4 separate regions of the Homo sapiens genome follow, and all the other regions are linked to region 4. Evidence: promoter capture Hi-C in human tissues and cell types (Jung and others, 2019). All regions are on one chromosome and are shown on one strand. Each heading gives the region's core, a stretch centred on a gene start or on the middle of the fragment in contact. The rest is flanking DNA. Distances are from core to core; before and after follow the strand shown. Region 1 overlaps SLC30A5 (solute carrier family 30 member 5). Region 2 has its middle 15 kb from the start of SLC30A5. Region 3 has its middle 21 kb from the start of SNORA50D. Region 4 holds the start of CCDC125 (coiled-coil domain containing 125).

Region 1 (2,700 bases), core at 43-2,542, 230 kb before region 4:
ATATAGATTAGTCTTTTTCTGCAAGTGGACTGGTTTAAGGAGGAAATGCTTAGGGACCATTGATAGGAATTGTATCATGCAGCTGTGTATGAGCATTCTTTTAACATTTCCCCATCTGTAAAGGATTTTACTTAGTGAATAAGTGTAAGAAAAAATGCCTTGCCGTGAGAATGAGAGGTAAGGAGTGAAATGAAGAATGTTCTTGGCCAGCACTGTGGCTCACGCCTGTAATGCTAGCACTTTGGGAGGCCAAGGGGTGGATCATTTGAAGTTACGAGTTGGAGACCACCCTAGCCAACATAGCAAAACCCCGCCTTTATTAAAAAATATACAAAAATTAGCCAGAAATCACTTGAACTCAGGAGGCGAAGGTTGCAGTGAGCCGAGATCACGCCACTGCACTGCAGGCTGGGCAACAGAGCGAGACTCCGTCTCAAAAAAAAAAAGAATGTTCTAAAGCAGAGAGATCCCCCACCCCCTGGCTATAGACCAGTATGGGTTCATAACTCATTAGGAACCAGGCCACAGAGCAGGAGGTGAGCCACGGGGGAGCAAGCATTACTGCGTGAGCTCTACCTCCTGTCAGATCAGCAATGGCATTAGATTCTCATGGGAGCAGGAACCCTGTTGTGAACTGTGCATGGGAGGGATATCTAGGTTGCATGCTCCTTATGAGAATCTAATGTCTGATGATCTGAGGTGGAACAGTTATGTCCTAAAACATCCCCCCACCACTGCTGTCTGGAAAAATTGTCTTCCAGGAAACCAGACCCTGGTGCCAAAAAGGTTGGGGACCACTGTTCTAAAGGATCTCACTCAGAATAGTGGGGTAGACAGAGTGGAAAGTGAAGGGTGAGAAATGTGGAAATGCTTTGTGAAAAGTCCTTTCCCCTCTCATGGCCAATAGAATAGCTTCTGGATTGGGATCCCTTTGACTTGTTTGTCATGTACTTTGTCAGATGCAGAGTAGGTATAATTGGAAATGTCATATCTCTAGCCACAGTAGCAGCTGCAGCTTGGAGGGCTGAGAAAGCTAGCTGAATTTCCTAGCTTGGGAAGAGGTTTTTCACCGTATGCTTGAATATGATTGAGTGCTGCTATTGCTTATCATCTGTAATATTTTAAATTTGTTATTCATGAAATTATGTTTTGGTTCCTGTGTTACTATATCACTGTCCTTTTGTGTTACAATAAGGAGGGAAAGAGGAAGTACTTACATCTTTACTTGGTTCCCTATTTAGTCATCTAGCTCCTGACCTTATCACTACCAACACTGCCCTCTCATTCTTCTACTAAAACCATTATGCAGTTTCTCAATTGCAAAAATTTTAATCCCAGCACTTTGGGAAGCCGAGGTGGGCAGATAGCTTGAGCCCAGAAGTTCGAGACCAGCCTGGACAACATGGCAAAATCCCATCTCTACAAAAAATTAGCCAGGCATGGTGCTGCGTGCCTGTAATCCCAGCTACCTAGAAGGCTGAGGTGGAAGAGATCACCTGACCTCAGGAGGTAGAAGCTTAACCTTAGCATACTTTACTCTTTTGTAAAAACAGCTTAAAACATAAACACATTGTACAACTGTACAAAAATATTTTTTCTTTATATCCTTATTCTGTAAGCTTTTTTTCTGTTTTTAATTTTTTTTCAACTTTTTTTTTTTGGAGACAGGATCTTGCTCTGTCATTCAGACTAGAGTATATGGCACAGTCTTGGCTCACTGCAACCTCCATCTCCTTGGCTCAAGGGATCCTCCCACCTCAGCCTCACCAGTAGCTGGGACTACAGGTGCCTACCACCACACCTGGCTAACTTTTGTATCTTTTTTGATAGCAGGTTTTGCCATGTGGCCCAGGCTGGTCTCAAACTCCTGGGCTCAAGGATCCACCCTTCTCACCCTCCCAAAGTGCTGGGATTACAGGCATGAGCCACTGCTCCTGGCACTTTTTTGTTAAAAACTAAGACATGCACACATTAGCCTATACCTACACAGGGTCAGGATTATCAATATTACTGTCTTCTACCTCCACATCTTGTCCCACTAGAAAGTTTTCAGGGGCAGTAACATGCAAGGAATTGTCATCTCCTATAACAATGCCTTCTTCTGGGGTACCTCCTGAAGGACCTGTCTGAAGCTATTTTACAGTTAACTTTTTTTTTGTTTTTGACACCACTATTTGAAGTCAAAGGATATAGTTACTTTTATTTTTAACAAGCAAAAGTACATTCTAAAATAATTTATAGTATAGTAAATACATAAACCAGTAGCATAGTCATTTATTATCATTATCAAGTCTTATGTTCTGTATATAATTGTATGTACTGTATTATATGACTGGCAGTGCAGTAGGCTTGTTTACACCAGCATCACCAGAAACACATGAGTAATGCATTAACACTAGGTGACTGGAATTTCTCAGCTCCATTATAATCTTATGGCACCACCATCGTATATATGTGGTCTACCATTGACCAAAATAATGTTATGCAGCACATGGGTATATGTTGCCTGTACTTTTTTTTTTTTTTTTTGAGATGGAGTCTCACTGTGTCACCAGGCTGGCATGCAGTGGCCCGATCTTGGCTTACTGCAACCTCCACCTCCCGAGTTCAAGTGATTCTCCTGCCTCAGCCTCCCGAGTAGCTGGGATTACAGGCATGTGCCACCACGCCCAGCCAATTTTTGTATTTTTAGTAGAGATG
Region 2 (2,700 bases), core at 49-2,548, 250 kb before region 4:
AAAAAAAAGAAAGAAAGAGAATACATTAGGTAATATAATGAACACCCACTCAGTCTAAAATAAAACATTTCTAAACACAACAGACTCCCCTCCCTATCACATTCCCAGTACAATATCTTTAATTTAGCATTTGTCATTCTCTTTTATGTATTTATACTTTTACTACACAAGTATCTACTTCTTAACAAAAGATAATATTGTTTGGCATGATTTTTGACTTTACAGAAGTTGTATAATACTGTATATGTCCTTCCAAGCTTATTTTTCCCACTCAAGTTTTCTTTGGCGGGAAGGGGGTGTTTGTGTGTTTGCTTTCTGAAAATTCCTAAGTCTTATCACTCAAGTTTAATATTTATTTAGCTTAATACACATAATTTTAATTCACTCATTTTATCTGCTATATAGTGTTCCACGATATGAATATGTAATTTTTCATTGTGTATCATACTGATGAGCATTTTTTTTTTTTTTGAGACAGAGTCTCGCTCTGTCACCCAGGCTGGAGTGCAGTAGTGAGATCTCAGCTCACTGCAAGCTCCGCCTCCCGGGTTCACGCCATTCTCCTGCCTCAGCCTCCCAAGTAGCTGGGACTACAGGCACCTGCCACCACACCCAGCTAATTTTTTGCATTTTTAGTAGAGACGGAGTTTCACCATGTTAGCCTGGACGGTCTTGATCTCCTGACCTCGTGATCCTTCCGCCTCGGCCTCCCAAAGTGCTGGGATTACAGGCGTGAGCCACCACACCCAGCCTTGATGAGCATTTAAATTGTTACCCCATCTGTTCTATTACCATCAATGCCAAAATGAACCCCAAATCTGACTCCTTGTGTTGATATGCAAGTATTTCTCTAGGCCAGTGGCCCTCAAATTTTAGAAAGCATCAGAATCACCTGAGAGTTTTATTAAACAATAGACCGTTGAATCCCACCCCCAGAGTTTCTAATTCATTTCTAACAAGTCCTTAAGCGATGTTGATGCTGTTGGCCTGAAGAACGCACTTTAGAACAACTGCCCTAGGATGTTCATCCTGGAGTAAAATTGCTATCAAATAATTGTGCATCTTCAACTTTACTAAATGATGCCAAATTGCTCTGCAAAGGAATTTTAATGATGTGCTCTCCCAAAGAAGTCAGTTCCCTTTCTCATGTCTGAAACCACCTTTGCACAATTGTGACTGAGACAGTGAAAGAGATCTAACTTAATCGACTTCATCTTGCTTCTAACCTCCAAGCTGTCCTTGTTCATTCCTGGGCATAAGCTGAACAAACTTTGGGAGAAACTTAGTTTATAGTTTATAGTTTGGAACAAGGACGATAACAGCCCTTTCCCAAAGCAGACCTCCTTCTTGCCTGGGGACTAGACTACCTCTGTAAGACTAACATTAGCCACAAGATTAGACATTATGGTTTTGGAGTCATGCAGCTGGAGGCTACAAGATTCTAAGATTCTGACCCTCCCTAAACTGCTCCTAAGATCAGTACTTGAGATATTCTGCAGACCCTGCACTTGATGCATCAGCTGGCACCACCCAGATCAATAAACTGGCTCACCTGATCTTGTGGCCCCCACCCAGGAACTGACTCAGCTCCAGATGACAGCTTTGACTCCTTATGATTTCATCCTTGACCAATCAGCACTCCTGGCTTACTGGCTTCCCCCCACCAAGTTGTCCTTAAAAACTCTGCTCCTCAAATGCTCAGGAAGACAGATTTGAATTAATAATAAAACTCCAGTCTCTCGCACAACCAGTTCTGCCTAAATTACTCTTTCTCTATTGCAGTTGCCCTGTCTTGAGAAATCGGCTCTGTCTAGGCAGTGGGCAAGGTCCACACCACATTTGATGTCATAACACTTCAAAAGTGTTGCCAATCCAAAGAATACAGAATTGTATTTCACTGTGGTTTCCATTTGAAATTCCCTGTTACTAATAGGATTGAGCATCTTTTCATATGGCTGTAGCCATTCAGGCTAAATTATACTGTCTCTTATCTGTTCATTCCTTTGCCTATTTGCTATTAGGGTGTTTGACTTTAATTTATTTCAAAAGACAAAATTACAGGCTGGGCACAGTGGCTCAGGCCTGTAATCCTAGCACTTTGAGAGGCCGAGGCAGGTGGGTAACCTGAAGTCAGTTTGATACCAGGCTGGCCAACCTGGTGAAACCCCGTATCTACTAAAAATACAAAAATTAGCCGAGTGTGGTGGCAGGTGCCTATATTCCCAGCTACTTGGAAGGCTGAGGCAAGAGAATTGCTTGAACCTGGCAGGAGCAGAGGTTACAGTGAGCCGAGATCGCACTACTTCACTCCAGCCTGGGTGACAGAGTGAAACTCCGTCTCAGAACAAACCAAAAAAAAGACAAAATTACAACAAATTTAGTTTAAAAATCCAATTGGCTTTTATTTGTGATTGTAGAATCAGGCAACACCTCACTGTATGAAATAGAATGGGTGTTCTGGTAGACAGAGCAGAGGAGGTTGGCTTTGTAGGCCAAAAAGGGCCGAAGAAAACAGAAACAGAGACCAAAAGGTAAATTGGCCATTTCATAGTTACTTTCCTTCTAGGGTTAAAAACAGAGGGGACTGGCCGGGTGTGGTGGCTCACCCCTGTAATCCCAGCACTTTGGGAGGCCAAGGTGGGTGGATCACAATGTCAGGAGATCGAGACCAAACTGGCCAACATGGTGAAACTCCGTCTC
Region 3 (2,700 bases), core at 71-2,570, 190 kb before region 4:
TGTTGCTCAAAGGATATTATTCTTCTTTTTTATGGCTGCATAGTATTTCATGGTATATATGTACCACATTTTCTTTATTCAATCCACTGTTGATGGGCACCTAGATTGATTCCATGACTTTGCTATAGTAAACAGTGCTGCGATAAACGTATGAGTTCAGGTGTCTTCTTTTTTTAAGTTTTTTGTTTGTTGGTTTTTTTTTGAGACAGTCTCTCTCTGTCGCACAGGCTGTAATGCAGTGGCATGATCTCGGCTCACAGCAACCTCTGCCTCTCGGGTTCAAGAGATTCTCCTGCCTCAGCCTCCCAAGTAGCTGGAATTACAGGCACCATGCCTGGCTAATTTTTTTGTTTTGTTTTGTTTTGTTTTGTTTTTATTTTTAGTAGAGACGGGGTTTCACCATGTCGGTCAGGCTGGTCTCGAGCTCTTGACCTCAAATGATCTGCCCACCTCGCCCTCCCAAAGTGCTGGGATTACAGGCATGAGCCAGATGTCTTCTTTTTTCTTTTTTTTTTTTTTTTTGGAGACAGAGTCTCGTTCTGTAGCCCAGGCTGGAATGCAATAGCGCAATCTCAGCTCACTGCAAACTCTGCCTCCCAGGTTCAAGCGATTCTTTTGCCTCAGCCTTCCAAAGAACTGGGATTACAGGCGTGCACCACCATATCCAGCTAATTTTTTTATTTTTAGTAGAGACGAGGTTTCACCATGTTGGCCAGGCTAGTCTCGAACTCCTGACCTCAAGTGATCCACCCACCTCGGCCTCCCAAAGTGCTTGGATTATAGGCGTGAGCCACCTCGCCCAGCCAAGCCAGGCATCTTTTTGATAAAACAACTTCTGTTCCTTTGGGTAGACACCCAGTAGTAGGATTCCAGGGTAGAATGATAGTTTTATTTTTAGTTATTTGAGAAATCTCCATACTGTTTTCCACAGGATTTAACAAATTTACATTCCTATCAACAGTGTATAAGCATTCAATTTTCTCTGCATCCTTGCCAACAGCTGTTATTTTTTGACTTTTTAATAATAGCCATTCTGACCAGTGTGAGATAGTATCTCCATTTGGTTTTAATTTGCATTTCTCTGATGTAAATCATAACCTTTTGTAAAACCAATATTCAGTGTTTCCAACATTATGACTATAAATTGCCACAATGCCCTATGTAACATATTATGATTATATTTCCATTTTCCATATTAACTTCTAGTTTGTTCCAGGTTTAATATGGCCTTGTTTTTTTTGTTTGTTTGTTTGGTTTTGGTTTTTTGTTTGTTTTGTTTTGTTTTTTTTTGAGACAGAGTCTCACTCTGTTGCCAGGCTGGAGTGCAGTGGCGCGATCCCAGCTCACTGCAACCTCAGCCTCCTGGGTTCAAGCGATTATCCTGCCTCAGCCTCCTGAGTAGCTAGGAATACAGGCATGCACCACCACGCCCAGCTAATTTTTGTATTTTTAGTAGAGACAGCGTTTCACCATGTTGGCCAGGATGGTCTCGATCTCCTGACCTCGTGATCCGCCCACCTGGGCCTCCCAAAGTGCTGGGATTACAGGCGTGAGCCACCGCGCCCGGCCATGGCCTTGTTTTTTATCATTTGCCTAGTTTTATAAATTTCTTCTCAGCCTGTTCCAATACATCAGCTACCAATTTTATTTATTTATTTTTTGCTTGGCGACGTCCCTCTTAGAGCCTACCGTCCTTGTCATTCTACTTCAGCCTTCACTGATTGCTCTCTGGGTCTGTTGATGGACACTTACGTTGCTTCCAAATCTTGGTTATTGTAAATAGTGCTACAATAAACATGAGAGTGAAGATATCTCTTCAATATACTGACAGCCTTTCTTTTGGGTATATACCTAGCAGGGGAATTGCTGGATCATATGGGAGCTCTATTTTTAGTTTTTTGATGAACCTCCAAACTGTTCTCCATAGTGGTTGTACTAATTCACATTCACATCTACAGTGGACAAGGGTTCCCTTTTCTCCACATCCTCGCCAGTGTTTGTTATTGCCTGTCTTCTGGCTATAAGCCTTTTTTTTCTTTTCTTTTCTTTTCTTTTCTTTTTGAGACAGGGTCTCGCTCTGTCACCCAAGCTGGAGTGCAGTGGCATGATCTGAACTCACTGCAGCCACTGCCTCCTGGGTTCCAGCAATTCTCCTGCCTCAGCCTCTCAAGTAGCTGGGATTACAGGTGCGTGCCACCACGCCTGGCTAATTTTTGTATTACTAGTAGAGACAGGGTTTTGACATGTTGGCCAGACTGGTCTCGATCTCCTCAACACAAGTGATCCGCCTGCCTCAGCCTTCCCAAGTGCTGGGATTACAGGCATGAGTCTGGCCAATAGAAGCCATTTTAACTGAAGTGAGATGATATCTCATTGCAGTTTTGATTTGCATTTCTCTGATGCTCAATGCTGTTGAGCTCCTTTCCTAAATGTGTTTGCCATTTGTATGTCTTTTGAGAAATGTCTATTCAGCTCTTTTGCCCATTTTTAAATCGGATTATTAGATTTTTTACTATAGAGTTGTTTGAGCTCCTTACATATTCTGGTTATTAATCCTTTGTCAAATGGATAGTTTGCAAATATTTTCTCCCATTCTGTGGGTTTCTCTTCACTTTGTTGATTGTTTCTTTTGCTCGGCAGAAGCTTTTTAACTTGATGTAATCCTACTTGTACATTTTGGCTTTGGCTGCCTGTGTTTGT
Region 4 (2,700 bases), core at 145-2,644:
ATTTTTGTAGAGACGGGGTTTCACCATGTTGGCCAGGCTGGTCTAGACCTCCAGACCTCAGGAGATCTGCTCACCGGTCTCCCAAAGTGCTGGAATTACAGGCGTGAGCCACTGCGCCCAGCCGAAACTCCGTTTCAAAAAAATAAAAATAAAAATAATGTATCCAACTGAAGTGTCACCCTGTTTTCTACAACAAAGCTACAGTTTTCACCTCCAGTTTCATCTGGCAGTACTCCCTGGATGTACTCTGCGCTTCCACGTAAGAGGAACTGCACTTGCTCCCAGGGCTCCTCCCTCAGCTCAGCTTGGTCACCTGCAAGCCTCTATTGGTGCCATTCTTCACCCCAGGAATGCTGTTTCTTCTCAGAGCCCCCTCAGTTCAGGACAGCACTCCCTCCAGTAGCCTTCCTGACTCCCTTGGACCAGATGTGATTTCTTCCACATCTGAGTCTTCCCAGTTCTGGGAGGTTTTACTGAATCTTTTTAATAGTGCTTACTTCCTACCTGACCTAGACTGACTGTATATTCCCTTATGCAGAGACTTTGTGTGTCTCGTTTGCTTATGCACAACATGTGTTCCAAAGATATTTGACAGAATCGAAAGAGAAAACCGATTCCTGCCCGGAAACCTTTGGACAGAAGAATCTACATTCAGTAGCCTGACAACTCTGCCTTAGCAAACAAGTTGGTCAAACATGCCTAACTCCATGACAAAGAGGAACTAACTTGAGCCCTCCCTGGTGAACAATGGCCTGCTGCACTTTGCTTTAGGATTTTGTTTCTTAACTTTTCATTTTAGAATAATTTTAGATGTACAGTAAATTGCAAAGATAGTACTAAGAATTCCTGTGTACCTTTTACCCAAATTCCTCTAATGTCAACATTTGTGTACAATTTGTCGAAATTAAGAAATTAACATGGGTACGTGCTATTAACTAAACCACAGCCTTTATTATTTTTTCCACTAATGTCTTTTTCTGTTTCAGGATCCAAACCAGGATACTGGCGCTATAGTTTTATAAGGCTCAAAATTAACAGAAGAGAAAAAAAGTAAAGCAGGTGGAGAGGCAGAGAGAGAAATAGGGTCTCTGAAATCTATTTCTTATTTTTTTCTTATCAGACGAGGCCATTAAACTGGCATTCAGGGAAAAGGATTTGGGCAGTTTGTCCACAACCTGCAGAGTTTCCACGAATCTGCGCATCCCGCCCCTGCCCTGGGTCCTCCCCACTCCCGGTTCCCACCTGCCAGGTCTGACCCCGGGTACCCTCTCAAGGTCCGTGGCGGGGACCGGAGCCCGGACTCCAGCTCAGCGAACAGCACCCTCCTACCGCCCCGGCGCCCCACTCAGCTCGCTCACCTGGCAAGTAGCCTCCTCTCCGTGCGCGTGCGCCGCTGCCGCCGCGCGTCCTCCGGGCCACCACGTGACCGCGTGGGCGCAGTCCCAGACAGGAAACGCCGGTGAGGTCGCCCTGGGCCATGGAGGCAGCTCGCGCTACTTTTTCGCGACCTCACTGTGTTCCTGTGTGCAACCTGATGTTAGCTCTGTCCACCTTCAGCTCCAAAGCCAACCACGGGTAACCAATATGCAAACAATGACATGAGATTTAGAAAAACAACAAGACGGGGCCTGTGTCAATACAGGTAAAATTTGGTGGTTCAAACATTGAGGTTCAGACCGGCGCGGGGTTTCACACCTGTAATCCCAGCTTTTGGGAGGCCAAGGCGGGAGGATCGCTTGAGGCCAGGAATTCGAGACCAGCATGGCCAACATAGTGAGACCCCGCTCTACAAAAAATTTAAAAAGTAGGGCTGGGCGCGGTGGCTCACGCCTGTAATCCCAGCACTTTAGGTGGCCGAGGCGGGTGGATCACGAGGTCAGGAGATTGAGACCATCCTGGCTAACACAGTGAAAACCCTTCTCTACTAAAAATACAAGAAATTAGCCGGGCGTGGTGGCGGGTGCCTGTAGTCCCAGCTGCGCAGGAGGCTGAGGCAGAATGGCGTGAACCCGGGAGGCGGAGCTTGCAGTGAGCCAAGATCGTGCCACTGCACTCCAGCCTGGGCAACAGAACGAGTCTCCGTCTCAAAAAAAAAAAATAATTAAAAAGTAGCGGGTGTGGTGGTGCGTACCTGTAGTCCCAGCTACTCAGGAGGCCGGGAGGCCGTCAGGTGGGAGGATCCCGTGAGCCTGGGAGATCCAGGCTACAGTGACCACTGCACTCCAGCCTGGGCGACGGAGTGGAGACCCTGTCTCAAAAAAGAAACAAACCAAAACCAAAATATTAAGTCTCTAGGAATCCTGTAAGAGAAGGGTAGATCGGGCCAGGTGCGGTGGCTCACGCCTGTTAACCCAGCACTTTGGGAGGCCAAGGTGGGTGGATCACCTGAGGTCAGAAGTTTGAGACCAGCCTGGCCAACATGGTGAAACCCCATCTCCACTAAAATACAAAATTTAGCCGGTCGTCACACGTCCGGAGGCCGAGCCGTCGCGTACCTAGGATGCCGCGTGGAAGCCGAAGCCGCACCTCCCGCATGGCCCCTCCGGCCAGCCAGGCCCCCTCAGATGAGAGCTGCACCCAGGCCAGTACCAGTCGTTCAGCCACCAGCAGCGGCACCCCCATCTGTAGTTGGCTCTTCTGCTGCTGCGCCCCGGCAGCCAGGTCTGATGGCCCAGATGGCAACCACTGCAGCTGGCGTGG

Evidence for each region. Contacts are between HindIII fragments. The study calls those that stand out against the background at their distance.
Region 1: a fragment that was not itself captured here is called in contact with the fragment with the promoter of CCDC125 in region 4 in 4 of the 25 tissues and cell types used here (H1 embryonic stem cells, aorta, liver and 1 more).
Region 2: a fragment that was not itself captured here is called in contact with the fragment with the promoter of CCDC125 in region 4 in 1 of the 25 tissues and cell types used here (spleen).
Region 3: a contact is called between a fragment that was not itself captured here and the fragment with the promoter of CCDC125 in region 4, in 2 of the 25 tissues and cell types used here (aorta and heart right ventricle).

Annotation. Positions count from the first base shown.
Region 1 is chr5:69,105,223-69,107,922 of GRCh38, forward strand. The region is part of intron 4 of SLC30A5 (solute carrier family 30 member 5); the gene reads left to right. Among named protein-coding and RNA genes, the nearest start is that of SLC30A5, 13 kb to the left of the region's middle. The HindIII fragment of the contact is 3,959 bases long and covers 1-2,700 here.
Region 2 is chr5:69,077,521-69,080,220 of GRCh38, forward strand. No RefSeq gene overlaps it. Among named protein-coding and RNA genes, the nearest start is that of SLC30A5, 15 kb to the right of the region's middle. The HindIII fragment of the contact is 8,551 bases long and covers 1-2,700 here.
Region 3 is chr5:69,137,978-69,140,677 of GRCh38, forward strand. No RefSeq gene overlaps it. Among named protein-coding and RNA genes, the nearest start is that of SNORA50D, 21 kb to the right of the region's middle. The HindIII fragment of the contact is 6,104 bases long and covers 1-2,700 here.
Region 4 is chr5:69,331,407-69,334,106 of GRCh38, forward strand. It overlaps CCDC125 (coiled-coil domain containing 125), which reads right to left and starts at 1,395. Exons shown (of 12, transcript NM_176816.5): 1 at 1,243-1,395. It also overlaps the pseudogene CHCHD2P2. The HindIII fragment of the contact is 34,363 bases long and covers 1-2,700 here.